Regions from separate parts of the Homo sapiens genome. Here region 1 is linked to region 2. Evidence: promoter capture Hi-C in 16 types of primary human blood cells and fetal thymus (Javierre and others, 2016). All regions are on one chromosome and are shown on one strand. Each heading gives the region's core, a stretch centred on a gene start or on the middle of the fragment in contact. The rest is flanking DNA. Distances are from core to core; before and after follow the strand shown. Region 1 overlaps NSD3 (nuclear receptor binding SET domain protein 3). Region 2 holds the start of PCM1 (pericentriolar material 1).

The links. The method cuts DNA at HindIII sites, captures the fragments that hold promoters and counts their contacts. A CHiCAGO score of 5 or more calls a contact.
Region 1: a fragment that was not itself captured here is called in contact with the fragment with the promoter of PCM1 in region 2 in 1 of 17 cell types (non-activated CD4 T cells); the score reaches 5.7 in non-activated CD4 T cells.

Annotation. Positions count from the first base shown.
Region 1 is chr8:38,268,550-38,274,766 of GRCh38, forward strand. NSD3 (nuclear receptor binding SET domain protein 3) reads right to left here. Exons shown (of 24, transcript NM_023034.2): 24 at 1,155-6,217. It overlaps PLPP5 (phospholipid phosphatase 5), which reads right to left and starts at 675. Exons shown (of 7, transcript NM_001102559.2): 1 at 577-675; 2 at 333-441. The coding sequence starts at 650. It also overlaps a transcript of DDHD2 not described here. RefSeq lists a silencer at 394-873. The HindIII fragment of the contact is 2,614 bases long and covers 1,438-4,051 here.
Region 2 is chr8:17,918,873-17,924,569 of GRCh38, forward strand. PCM1 (pericentriolar material 1) reads left to right here and starts at 4,116. Exons shown (of 39, transcript NM_006197.4): 1 at 4,116-4,316. LOC124901867 reads right to left here. Exons shown (of 4, transcript XM_047422505.1): 2 at 5,285-5,355; 3 at 4,637-4,894; 4 at 2,156-4,474. The coding sequence ends at 3,792. RefSeq lists silencers at 1,308-1,602, 4,328-4,622 and enhancers at 3,484-3,933, 5,084-5,143. The HindIII fragment of the contact is 6,694 bases long and covers 1-5,697 here.

The DNA.
Region 1 (6,217 bases), core at 1,495-3,994, about 20 Mb after region 2:
TCACTGGAGCTAACATAAGGTCTCTGAGTGCGCGTAACCGGGCGCCAGGCAGCGCCACCAGTGAACAGCAGCGCCCGTGCGGCTCGGGCCCCGGTACCTCAGGCTGAGGCACAGAGCGCCCGGGAAAACGTTGTCTCAGCCCAAAGAGGCTCGGACACCCTCCTCTCTCAATCAGGATCTTAAACACTCGAGCCCTAGGAGGCGGAACCCAGCGCACAGCAGCGGAGTGGGCAGTGGGTCCCTACAAAGGCCGTCTCGGGGTGGAAAACGCACAGGTGCCCGCGGGAAGCCGGGTCATGGGGAGGGAGGAAAGACGATCTTTCTCCACGCACAAACATCGGCTTGGTGGGGAAATACTCCGCCTCCACGTAGGGGTTCCGGTAGAGCCACATCTCCTCCGGCTGGATGAGTCTCTGGAACGGGGGGAGCAGCTCCGTCACCCTAGAGGGGAACAAAGAAGCGCAGAGCAGGTCGCCTGGCTTCCTCCCCGCTTCCCCACTGCCCGACCCGCCGCCCCGTGCCGCCCGCCTGCCTGGGAAGCGGGGCCGCCCGGGCCCGGCCGTGGATCTTTCTTACAGGAAGGCCGCGAACAGCGCGAGCCGCACGCCCACTTCGGCCCCAAAGGCCACCGCCGCCGCCGCCTTCCCCATCCGGCCGCGAGCTCCGAGCGACGCTGCGCTGACGTGGCCACCTCCGCGGGGAGGGCCGGGCCGGGAACTGGGCACCGCCCCCTCTCCCAGTTGCCCGCGCTCCGGCGGCTCCCCAGGAAGACGGCCTGGCGGCTGTGCCGAGGGCATCGTCTGGCAAAGGGTACGCAAAGCCAGCGGAGCTGCCCTCTGGTGCGTTCAGCAGGGAGCCAGCGCCCCAGTTCCAGCCGAGTAGGTCGGCGTACGGTCCATCATCAGCAGCTCGTCTCCACGGCCCAACCACACCACCGCGGGGAGCAGCCTTCTCCCGGGACCTCGCCTCTAAATGGAAAACCAAACAGCCCGCTCTCAGATCCTCGTTCCTTAGCAACACAGCCGCATTCTGCAGGAAGCTACACTACCTGAGGTTGGCTGGATTGTGTCATTTAGTCCTCCCACCCAGGATGGCCTCCTGCCCAGAGTGTTGTAGCAAAAAATTATTGGCAAAGAACAAGCCCACATATTTAATTTGGAACATACAGGACAATTTATTGAAGTCAATCTCAAGCAAAATCTGAAATCAGTGGAATGTCATTAAAAACCTTTCCAAATTAATCCTCACGGAAGCAAAAAACACATTGGAATTCCAAAGTATTTGTAAAATAAAAAAGGCAACATCTCAGTAAATATAATGTACAAAAATTATATGTTCCTACCAGCACACACATCAGTAAAGAAGCTTAAATATTACAGGCAACCCTAAATACACTATAACTAGTCAACAATAAGCTATCTATATACAGGTTAACCAAGCTTTACACGTTTCACACTATGCAATAAAACATAGGCCAATCAACAAAATCCTCAAAATATTATATATCTTGAAGTCTATGTGGCAACATCAAGTCATTATACAGTAATGCCCTAGTGGAACACCCCCAGGGAAAATTAACACTAATCCCTTAGTGTCAAGAGCTTCTAGCCAAGTCACAGAAACTCAAAAGAGATTGACTTTAGTGAATATTGATGCTTTGTTATTAAAGACTCAAGTCTCAAGTGATTTAGGCAAAGTAATGGTTCACAGGATCTACAAAGTTTATTACAGATAAAGTACAGAAATAACCAATCTACAAAGATCATTATCATAAAGAACACGAGAAAATGAAAACGGAGTCTGTAGGTATCTGTGTTTGTTGTGCAATATCACTCAAATGGGTACAAATGAGTTTCTCATATCAATTCCAAATATACACATACCCTTGTATATAAAAAATGATATTAGCCAGTTGTAATACTCATTTAGCATCTTGATTATTAGTGGCAATATAATTATCTTAACATAGGGCATGTAACAGGACAAATGAGATAAAATAATGACAACCAAGTAAGTTTTATCCAGTCCATTTCTAAACTGACAAGAATACCTTATTCAATACCTTATATAGGTCATCTGACAGATACTTGAGGGCTGTTTGCACACATCAAGTGTGTTGGCAGGCAGGGAGGGGAGCAGTAAAAGCTGAGGGTGCTTTCTCACTAACTAGCAGATGCAGTAATGCCACATAAGAAAACTAAGGACTGAATAAATGACTTTGGCATCTATTCTATTTTCCCTTTTTACTTACATGTAAATTACTTTTACAGCCTACTGAAGGACAGGCAATTCTCATCCCCCTCCCGCTTCATACATACGTGCCACAAGCACCCAAACTTGTCACTTATGCAATGGACTGACCAAAACAAAACAAAAAACAGAAATGTTTTTTGAAAGACACGGATTACCCACATTTTGGGAGTGTAACGTAAGTGCAATTTTTTGTTTTGTTTTTTTCCCTACATAGACATAGTAAAAGGAAAGAAGATGTGCTTGGGGAGAGGGTTGACAAAATGACAAAATAAAGAATGTACATAAAAAGTATTTGTAAAAATGCTGGTATCTCATGCAGGAGTCTCTTCCTCAAATGTGTTCAATCAATCTGAGCTATCTACTGTGAACACTCTCCCATTTGCAGAACTTCACCTTTAATCCACGCTAAAGAGGATAAGAGACTAGGCTATTTATTTTCAAAACAGTTTACAAAACAATGCTTTCTACTTCATAAATGTAAAAAGAAACTAAAATAAGGAGAATCTGAAGAGTTTCAAGTACTTAAAAAACCTGAATTCAATGAGGCAGAGGTCTCAATGTTAAAGTGACTATTTCGTACCTGTGGTAAACATTATCCCCCCCCTTACCCTTTACCAGGAGAAAGGGGGTTCCCTTTCTCCTGGTACCCCACCCCAGGTAAAAGTTGGTGAGATTTCAGTATATACACATTTCCAACTTTTCAGTATTTGTTAATTCATTGCAAAGCTGTCTAATTATAGTATTCCCTAGTCCATCTGAAAATGGAAGCAAGTTCTACTTTTTGTTTTACAAATAACCAGAGACCAATTCTAGGTGGCCCTAGGCCAAAGGAAAGTGTTTCCATTCATCAATTCATGTCTGCACCAACTTGGACAACTGGGGGAGGCTGGATGCATCAGCCTTGTGAAAAGTAACTTTAGTCTACGCTGCCCAGAAATAAAGCAACTTTCCAATGTCCTTTTTCTCATATGGAAGTATAGAATGTCAGCTTCCCAGCTGTGAGGGCTCCATAGCCACTGTTTTCTTATCTTGTTAAGAGGACATGGCATGTGGCAGCCAACACCTTGACTTCAAGGTGAATGCTAAAGGAAGAGCTTTGTATTTAAAATGAAATGAAAGACAAGCAACAAGTCCTGGGCAGTCCAGAGATTGTATTCTCTACAGATGGCCTGTTTGCAAACAGTAGGTCTGGGTTTGACCTATTGGAATACACCATGCAAGAAACTACTCAAAAAGGAAATTCCACTTCATGAACCAGGAAAGTTGTCCAATAGCCTGTCCCATCTGAGGGTCCTTTACATGATTAGATACTCAATATCTCAGTTCCACAACGTTATTTACAGACATGTTTTCAAATATTTTGTGTAAATGGCAGAAGGGAGCTGGGAGCAGTCCCCCTGCCTCCATTACTTTTTTAGCTTTCACATATGTTCTTGACTTGTACAGAAAATCCCAAATTTTAAATGATTCCCCAACTCAGCCAGTTCTATAGATGAGGCCAGATCATTTTTGAGAATTAAGATAAGAGTGGGAACTTGTTAAAACAAAAATGAAAATAAAACCCACCTCACTCCTGTATCTCTCCCTGATTAGACATTAAAGAGGTGAATCACTGCCTCTGGCTGCTTCAGCCTTCCAGGAATGAAGAGCCATCCACCTTGCCCTTCTCAGCCAGCCACAGGCAGCTCTTCTGATTCTTCCCTCGCAGCAGTGGCGGTCCAGCCCCTCCCTCCCCTGCACAGTGCCTGAGAAAGTTTCCCAGGATTTCATCTTTAGCTCTTACTGATCCAGTTTCTGAAGCTTTAGGCTGATTATCAAAAATCTTATGTTCACTTCTTCCTTCAACAAATTAACATGTGGTTAAAAAAAATACCACCATTAGCCCATGCTGCTTTAAGTTATTTCATTGTTGGACAAGAATAAAAACCAGCCACTTACACTCTGACCACATATAGATTTAAAAGTTAACAAATACCAACTTCAGACTATGAGTGAGCAATGTCTTTTGGAATATTTCATTGGTGTATCACAGGCACAGTGCATGTATACTCATGCACACATAAAGGACAATTTTCTCTTTCTGCATCTATAATCTGCAACTTAAAAATATATCAAATAGGTCAACATTGACGCTATGGAGGTGTGAGGAGAACTCCTTGGCACCAGCATGACTAAAACCGCTTTTTAGACCATTAAAGAACATTCATGGCCAAAGACTTCAGAACTATGGTTACCTTTTTTTTTTGAGATGGAGTCTCGCTCTGTCACCCAGGCTGGAGTGCAGTGATGTGATCTTGGCTCACTGCAACCTCTGCCTCCTGAGAAACTGGGACTACAGGTATGTGCCACCATGCCCGGCTCCTTTTTGTATTTTTAGCAGAGACAGGGTTTCACCATGTTGGTCAGGCTGGTCTCAAACTCCTGACCTCATGATCTGCCCACCTCGGCCTCCCAAAGTGCTGGGATTACAGGTGTGAGCCACTGCACCTGGCAGCTATTTTGTTTTCTACTCTGATTTCTGAAATGGTGAAACAATCCTATTAATCATAATTTTTTTTTAATTTCAGCAGAGCTCTGTTACAGATATGAAAACAAAATGTGACACAATGAAGAAGCTGCATAAAAATACTGAAACCTAAGGTATCTGTAGTATATAGGATGTACCCTGGCTTACCATAGAAAAGTCTTTAGATAGTAAATAGCACTAAGTCTAAAAGCAAGGAGATAAGATTTCATGTTGGATACTGTTTCAAGAACTGTATTTGGAATATTAAAGGAAATCCTTATGTTAGTAAGTTTAAAAAACCAAACATCATATACAAAATAAAATTTTAGTATGATAAAACCTAGCTTTTCTTATTTTTTAAAAGGACATCAAACTATATAATTGCTCAAGAGCAAAGTTTAGTGTTTTGGTGAGCTGTATTTCATGTTACTTGTAGCAATTATATTTGGTGACATGGATCGCATTTTCCATTTTGCTCTTTCTTTTGGGACCATATCTAATCAACAGAAGTACTGGAAGCCCAATGAGTCACCGCAGAATTAATTGCTGGAGTCAGGCAAATGGCAGTTTAGGAGCTTCAGTAAAAGAATTGTAGTGTTTTTTACAAGAGAAAATCCAGTATAATTGCACATTTACATACAAAAAAAAGAGGCACAAAACAGATTTTCACCCTCTTTCCATAGAAGAGCTCTAAATTGATAAGCAAATGGAACACTCAATACAGCTGAAGGAATGTGGTAGAGCATCTACCCTCCCTACCTTCATAAGGTTACTAGGTACTTGAGGGAAAATAAATGCTACCAGGTACCAGCAATTGTAAGCAGTCAAAATTCACAGAGAAAGTTAACATTCATTCAAGCTAACCCTAGACTTCTACTTAGTACAGTGTTACAACAATGTCTGACATTACTAATTATTTTCATACAAGGAATACTGGAATATACATATTCCTAAGCATTAAAAGCAAGTGAGTTTGGTGAGCAGACATCTTGGTATACTCGCATCTATAAGAGTCAAGCATCACCATCAACCATTTTTGCTAACACTGACTTTCTTGGGAGTTTTCTCCAAGTGCTTCCTAAGATGAAGTGTGTTTGTGTGGCTCTTATGCACCCTGTAAAAGTAGAAGTTCTTCCCCTTACTCAATGGGAGCAATCTTAAGTACTGGATAATAATAGAAATTCTTTACATGTAACCTGGGGATGCCCCTACTACTTTCACCCCCCAAATTAGGAACTCAACCAAAAAGATCTATTCAAATACAATTCAAACTCACTTGTGTGGTTTTACCAGGAAACATGACTGAATGGTCAGATGACAAAAGAAATGTTTGAGTAGGAGAGGAAAACAGAGACAAAAAATAAAATGCCTGTAATTCTCTCCAATTAAGACCAGGGTCTACAATAAAATTGGACAGAAAATGGTGCTTATATGATCCAAATTTTGGTTTATGCCTTC
Region 2 (5,697 bases), core at 2,866-5,365:
GAAGAAAATGTGGCAGGGAGCAGTCCTTAAACATCTTAAGTTCTTTTTTTTTTTTTTGTTTTTTTGACAGAGTCTTGCTCTGTCACCAGGCTGGAGTGCAGTGGCACAATCTCGGTTCACTGCAACCTCTGCCTCCCGGGCTCAAGTGATATTGTCCTGCCTCAACCTACCTGGGATTACAGGCTCGCACCACCACGTCTGGCTAATTTTTGTAGTTGTAGTAGCAGCGGGGTTTCGCCACGTTGCCTTGTCTCAAACTCCTGACCTCAAATGATCCAACTGCCTCGGGCTCCCAAAGTGCTGGGATTACAGGCATAAGCCACTGTACCCAGACACGTTTTGATTAAATTCTATTTTCAAAGTTAGGTTGTGGGTTCTTGAGTGTTTCGCTCGTTATTGTACTTTATGTATGCATGTATGTATGTATGTAGAAACAGTTTCCTTAAGTTCCTCAGGCTGGTCTGGAGCTCCTGGCCTCAAGTGATCTTCCAGCTTCAGCCTCCCAAGTAGCTGAGATTACAGGCATATAATGCGCCCAGTTGTCAGTATTGTACTATAGAGTTTACATGTATGTTATATATTCTTTTGGGTGTATCAAAAAATCACATAATAAAAACAAATAACATGCAGTTATAAAGTAGTGGATTTGTCCCTGAAGATTTTTCCTTTAAGTTCTGTCACCATCTGCAGGTTAAAACTAGGTATTGCAGAAAACTTGTTTTTCAAAGATTAAAAAGTACAAACGGCTGGATTTCTGTTACAGACATGCTTACAATCCATCTGTGGATAAGGAGCATACAGAATACATTAAAGAGATAAACATTATAGCACCAAGTGTTTTGTTTTTTTTTTGAGACAGAGTCTCGCTCAGGCTGGAATGCAATGGTGTGACCTGGGCTCACTGCAACCTCCACCTCCTAGGTTCAAGCAATTCTCCTGCCTCAGCCTCCTGAGTAGCTGGGATTATAGTCACATGCCATCACACCCGGCTAATTTTTGTATTTTTAGTAGAGACGGGGTTTCACTATGTTGGTCAGGCTGGTCTCGAACTCCTGACATCATGATCCACGCGCCTCGGCCTCCCAAAGTGCTGGGATTACAGGCATGAGCCACCGTGCCCGGCTGTGTTATCTTATAAGTACCACCTGGTTAGTGTCCTACCAAATATCAAGAAACAGAAATAGTATTTTCACATCATAACAACTGATTTAGTTTATGTGAATAAAAATTTAAATCCCTTACTTTATTCATCCTGCTACTACCTTAGGCCAAGCCTTCATTACTTCATGACAGGTTGGCACCTGTTCTCCTTGTCTTCTTTTCCTAGTCTTTACAAAACATTGCCACTAGATTGAAGTCTTCAAATAACCATTTCATTACAGCATTGACCTCTTCCAAAGTCTCAAATGGTTTCACACTAACTGAAGAACAAAGTCCACACTCTTTAGATAAGTAGTTGACTTTCTATAGTTTGGCCCCAACCTGGTAATAAACCTTGCCTTCTCCCACCTCCCCATCACTTACCATATATAAATCCTCTACTTCAGCCAGTCTGTTTTTTGTCCATTGCTTACTCTGGATGTGTGATCTGTGTTCTTGGTATATCCCACTTCCTTGAACATCATTCTGCAATTTGGAACTTCCACCCCCTGCATATTTAATACATGTGTTAGGTTGTTCTCTTGAATGTGGAAAACTGAAAGGCAGTTTCAATGTTTATCTCTTAGAGGCCATTCTTCTGTTTCCTATCTACATTTCCACAGACTGCTGCCCCTAATTTCATCCTACCTATAAATCCTAGAGCTATCATTATCTCTGAGACAAAACATCCCTATTTTAAAAATCTAAATTACCACAGCAATCAGTGTCTACATCATTTGTTTGGCATAGTGACGGACTATTAACACTAAGTCGATTCATTCTGATAAAGTTTGTTTCTAAAAATAGATGTTAAATTTCTGAAAGCCAGGTATAATTTTATCGCTTCTTGTTTTTTTTCTTTCCTTCTTCCCTTACAAAGATCAGTAATGCTCATATTTGAGTTTGAGATCCCCTTTTCAATGTAAATATTTCTCAAATTCCTCTTACCTCCCAACAAACAATAGTATTGACATTCTGGGGCTTCATAAATTCAGAAAACATCATGACTAGTAGATATTATAATTTCATGCTTTTGAATTTATTAGAATTGTTTTAATGATAACAGCTTCTACATTTCAATGTAAATATTTCTCAAATTCCTCCTACCTCCTAATAAACAATAGTATTGACATTCTGGAGCTTCATAAATTCAGAAAACATAATGACTAGTACGTATTATAATTTCACGCTTTTGAATTTATTAGAATTGTTTTAATGATAACAGCTTCTACATACGTTTAATAATAATACATATGTATAAAGCAAAATAATGATGATAGCTAATATTTCGGGCCTCAACATATACTAGTGTTTTTATATGCGTTGTATTTAATTAAAAAAAATCTTAAAGGAATCACATAGACCTCCGTTTAAATTTAGGCTCTACCACTTGCAGCTGCTACAAGTTTGATTTATATAATCTTTCATTGCCAAAACGGGTCAGATTCAGAACCAGCCTCTTCAGGGTAACTGTGAGGATCAAGAAAATCACAACAGCCGAAGTGCTTTACAGTGTGCCTGGCATAAAACAAACTCTGAGAACATTTTTTAAAAAATCCTTTCAAGGTAGGCAGTATCATTCCTTCCCCCTCATTTCATAGATGGGGCAATTAAGGCTCAGAAAGGCACGTCGCTTGTCCAGGATCTTGGAGTGGTGGAATTAGGATAGGGCATTCTGGACTACAATAAACACCTGAGCGTTTAGCTGCTGTGTTCTGAGCTCCCACAGCACTTTTTCTTACAACACAAACTTTATTTACATCACACTCCACTTCCGCATCCTTCACTAAAATATGAGCTCTTCAAGGGCAGGGACTATATTTTTGCTACCGCAGTAGTTAGCGATACACACACAGAATATGAGGAAAAAGTGTCTGACCAACGATCAATGCACTCACGACTGAACCTACGGTGGCAGATTGCAGTGGGATAGAAGAGCTTTATGTGAATTGCGTACTGAGATGCAGACCTACTATTTTGGGAACAATTTGTTTTTGTTGTTGAAACCCAGAATGCAATTCTTCTTTTTACCTTTATTTTGCTTAAAAAGTTATTCCATAATTATAAACTGCGTAAAACTAGAAGAATGCCCTTGCACTCAACTAAAACTGACAGGTGTTTTACCTTTCCAGTCAGGCACATTGAAGGCCTTGTGACTTTATTGATTTTTGTTTTTTAAAGGGAGGACCTGCCAATTTATTAATCTTAATAGAGCTGTAACAGGAGAGTATAAATAAAAAGATAGTTCAGAGAAAATTTACTGAAATTAAGTTTGGATTAAAATCATCTGGCTCTTTTAAGGAAAAGGGACATTAACCAAAAGTGGCGTTAACTATCAACAATATTTATGATTCTCTCACTCAGTAGATACATAATGACGTCTGGCAAATTGTTTAACTTCCGTGGAACAATCCCCTCATATGTAAAATCAGGAGGTTGGACTACATTGTAAGTGTCCTTTTGTTTCCACCTCTTCGTGACCGAATGTGGGGTGAGGAAGGGGCAAAAAAGCGATCCCGGTCTTGGCTCCTTCTTCCGGCACGGGCCGGAGCTGACACCCCCACGGAAAACCGCACAGCGCCTCCGCTCTTTCTCCACGGGCTGAGGGATCAATGCACTTCCGCATAGGCCTAGGGCCCCACGCTCCGCGATCAGCGCCGGAAGCGCACGGCATGCTGGGATTTGTAGTCCTCCACCTGTGGCCGGCAGGCGTTTAGAACGCGAGGTCTAGTTGGCATTCTGGGATACATAGTTCCTGGGCGGGTGGGGGCGGATTCGTTGGTGTAATCTCTTTTCGGCTTAAAGAGCCAGAAGCGACACCACAGACTCCGGCGGGTCACATGACTCCAGTCTAGCTCGCATTGCGGCTCCCGCCCGGGCGAGTTCTCGCCCCCGCGCGGCCGTTGCCGAGGAGACGGCGCATGTCCCGCCGCGCGTTGCCCCCTCTGCAGTACCCCCGCCCCTCTTCTCCCACCACAATGAGATCCTAAGATGGCGGTGGCTGCGGCGGTTGGCGCTGCGTAGCTGAGGTCGAAAAGGCGGCCACTGGGGCCGAGGCAGCCAGGAAACGTGTGGGCCTCTCTGCTGCGGTCTCCGAGGGCCGACCGCTGCCGGCGGCGGGTCGTGGGGGCTGACTGTCGCTCTGCCTTTGACAGGAGAGGCTGCTTCTTGTAGAGGTAATGCCTGCGCGTCCCCAGCCCTTGGCAACCTAGGGCGGCGCGCCCCAGAGGCGGGAGAGTAACGGCTCCGGGACACTCGGCCCTGTTGGGTCTGGCCACGGGCCCACGCCTCCTCTGTAGGTTCCCGGGTCTTCCTGCCCCGGGCTTCCCGTGCCCTAGGCGGTCAGTCCGCCCGCTCCCTCAGGACTGATCGCCGGGATCCCCGGGTGAGCACCTCGCGACGCGTTGGTGATTGCAGGACTCCCTTCTTGCCTCCTCGCCCCTCCTGCTGGCCCTGTCGGGGAGGCTGTTCTGCGTCCCGGTGGCTCCGGCTATACCCCTTGCGGGCGGAGGAAGCGGAGCGGGGACTCTGGTTTGGGTGCTAGGGGCACTGGGTCGAGTTCTTAGAGAAACAGGCCTTGGTGGCCATAGTTCTTCCCCGCGTTCCCTCTGTGGAACTCTCGGTGTCCAGAGTTTGGGGTGTAGAAGGGCGGATGAGGAGCGACGCGACTCTGAAGAGTTGCAGTTGGGCTGTGAGCTGCAGGATTTCCGCCGTCTCTGGTGCTGTGGGAGCCGATGGGCCGGGGGAGGCGTTCCTGGGAAGGTTAATGGAGTAATTATTGCCCCTTCTTTCTCCCTTCCTACCTATCTAGTTAGAATTGGGCCTAGAACCGGGAAAGACTAAATGCCAAGTGGGACTGGGGGAAACGTTGTTTGGTTTACAGAAACTGGCGTTTGGGGATTAGGCCCCGCCAGGGAGGCTGGGCGCGCCAACTTTGCATCCCTCAGCCTACTCCCCAGGAACTCGCCTGGTTTAATTTTTTTTGTTTTGTTTTGTTTTTTTGAGCGAGTTGAGGTCTGTATTGTGTGTCTTACGGGTGACGGTTCGTGTTTGGGCGCTGGAAGGAGCGGGCTTTCTGGGCGCCCCTACCACCCCCGCCCCATAACCGCTTTCCAGACTCCGCCTGCTGGTGTTCTCTGGTTACCGGAGTGGGTGTTGCAGAGCCTCGGGTGCACCTGCTCCTTTCTTTCCCTAGCACCTTCCTGGTGAGGACCCCTGAACACCAATATAATACAGAGTTTTTGAATTGAAGGTAAACCTGGTATTTATGTAGTGACGAGGTTATTTTATTATGAAGTACAGTAGCTTTTAAATGAGCAAACATTTTTAAAATCATCGGATATACGAGGTTGTTACATAGTTTGAGTAACAGGAAGCTCGATCAATCAGAGGAGTAAACTTTGGCATAGACTATTAAAGGATAGTTAGGGCTAACCATCTTTGTTACACTGTTCCGAAATAGATATCACTTTGCTGTTTGGTAAGATTTCAGAAGTTTAGGGGATTTAAGCATTTATGCATATCACACTATTTTCCAAAAGAATTGAGGTAACTTAA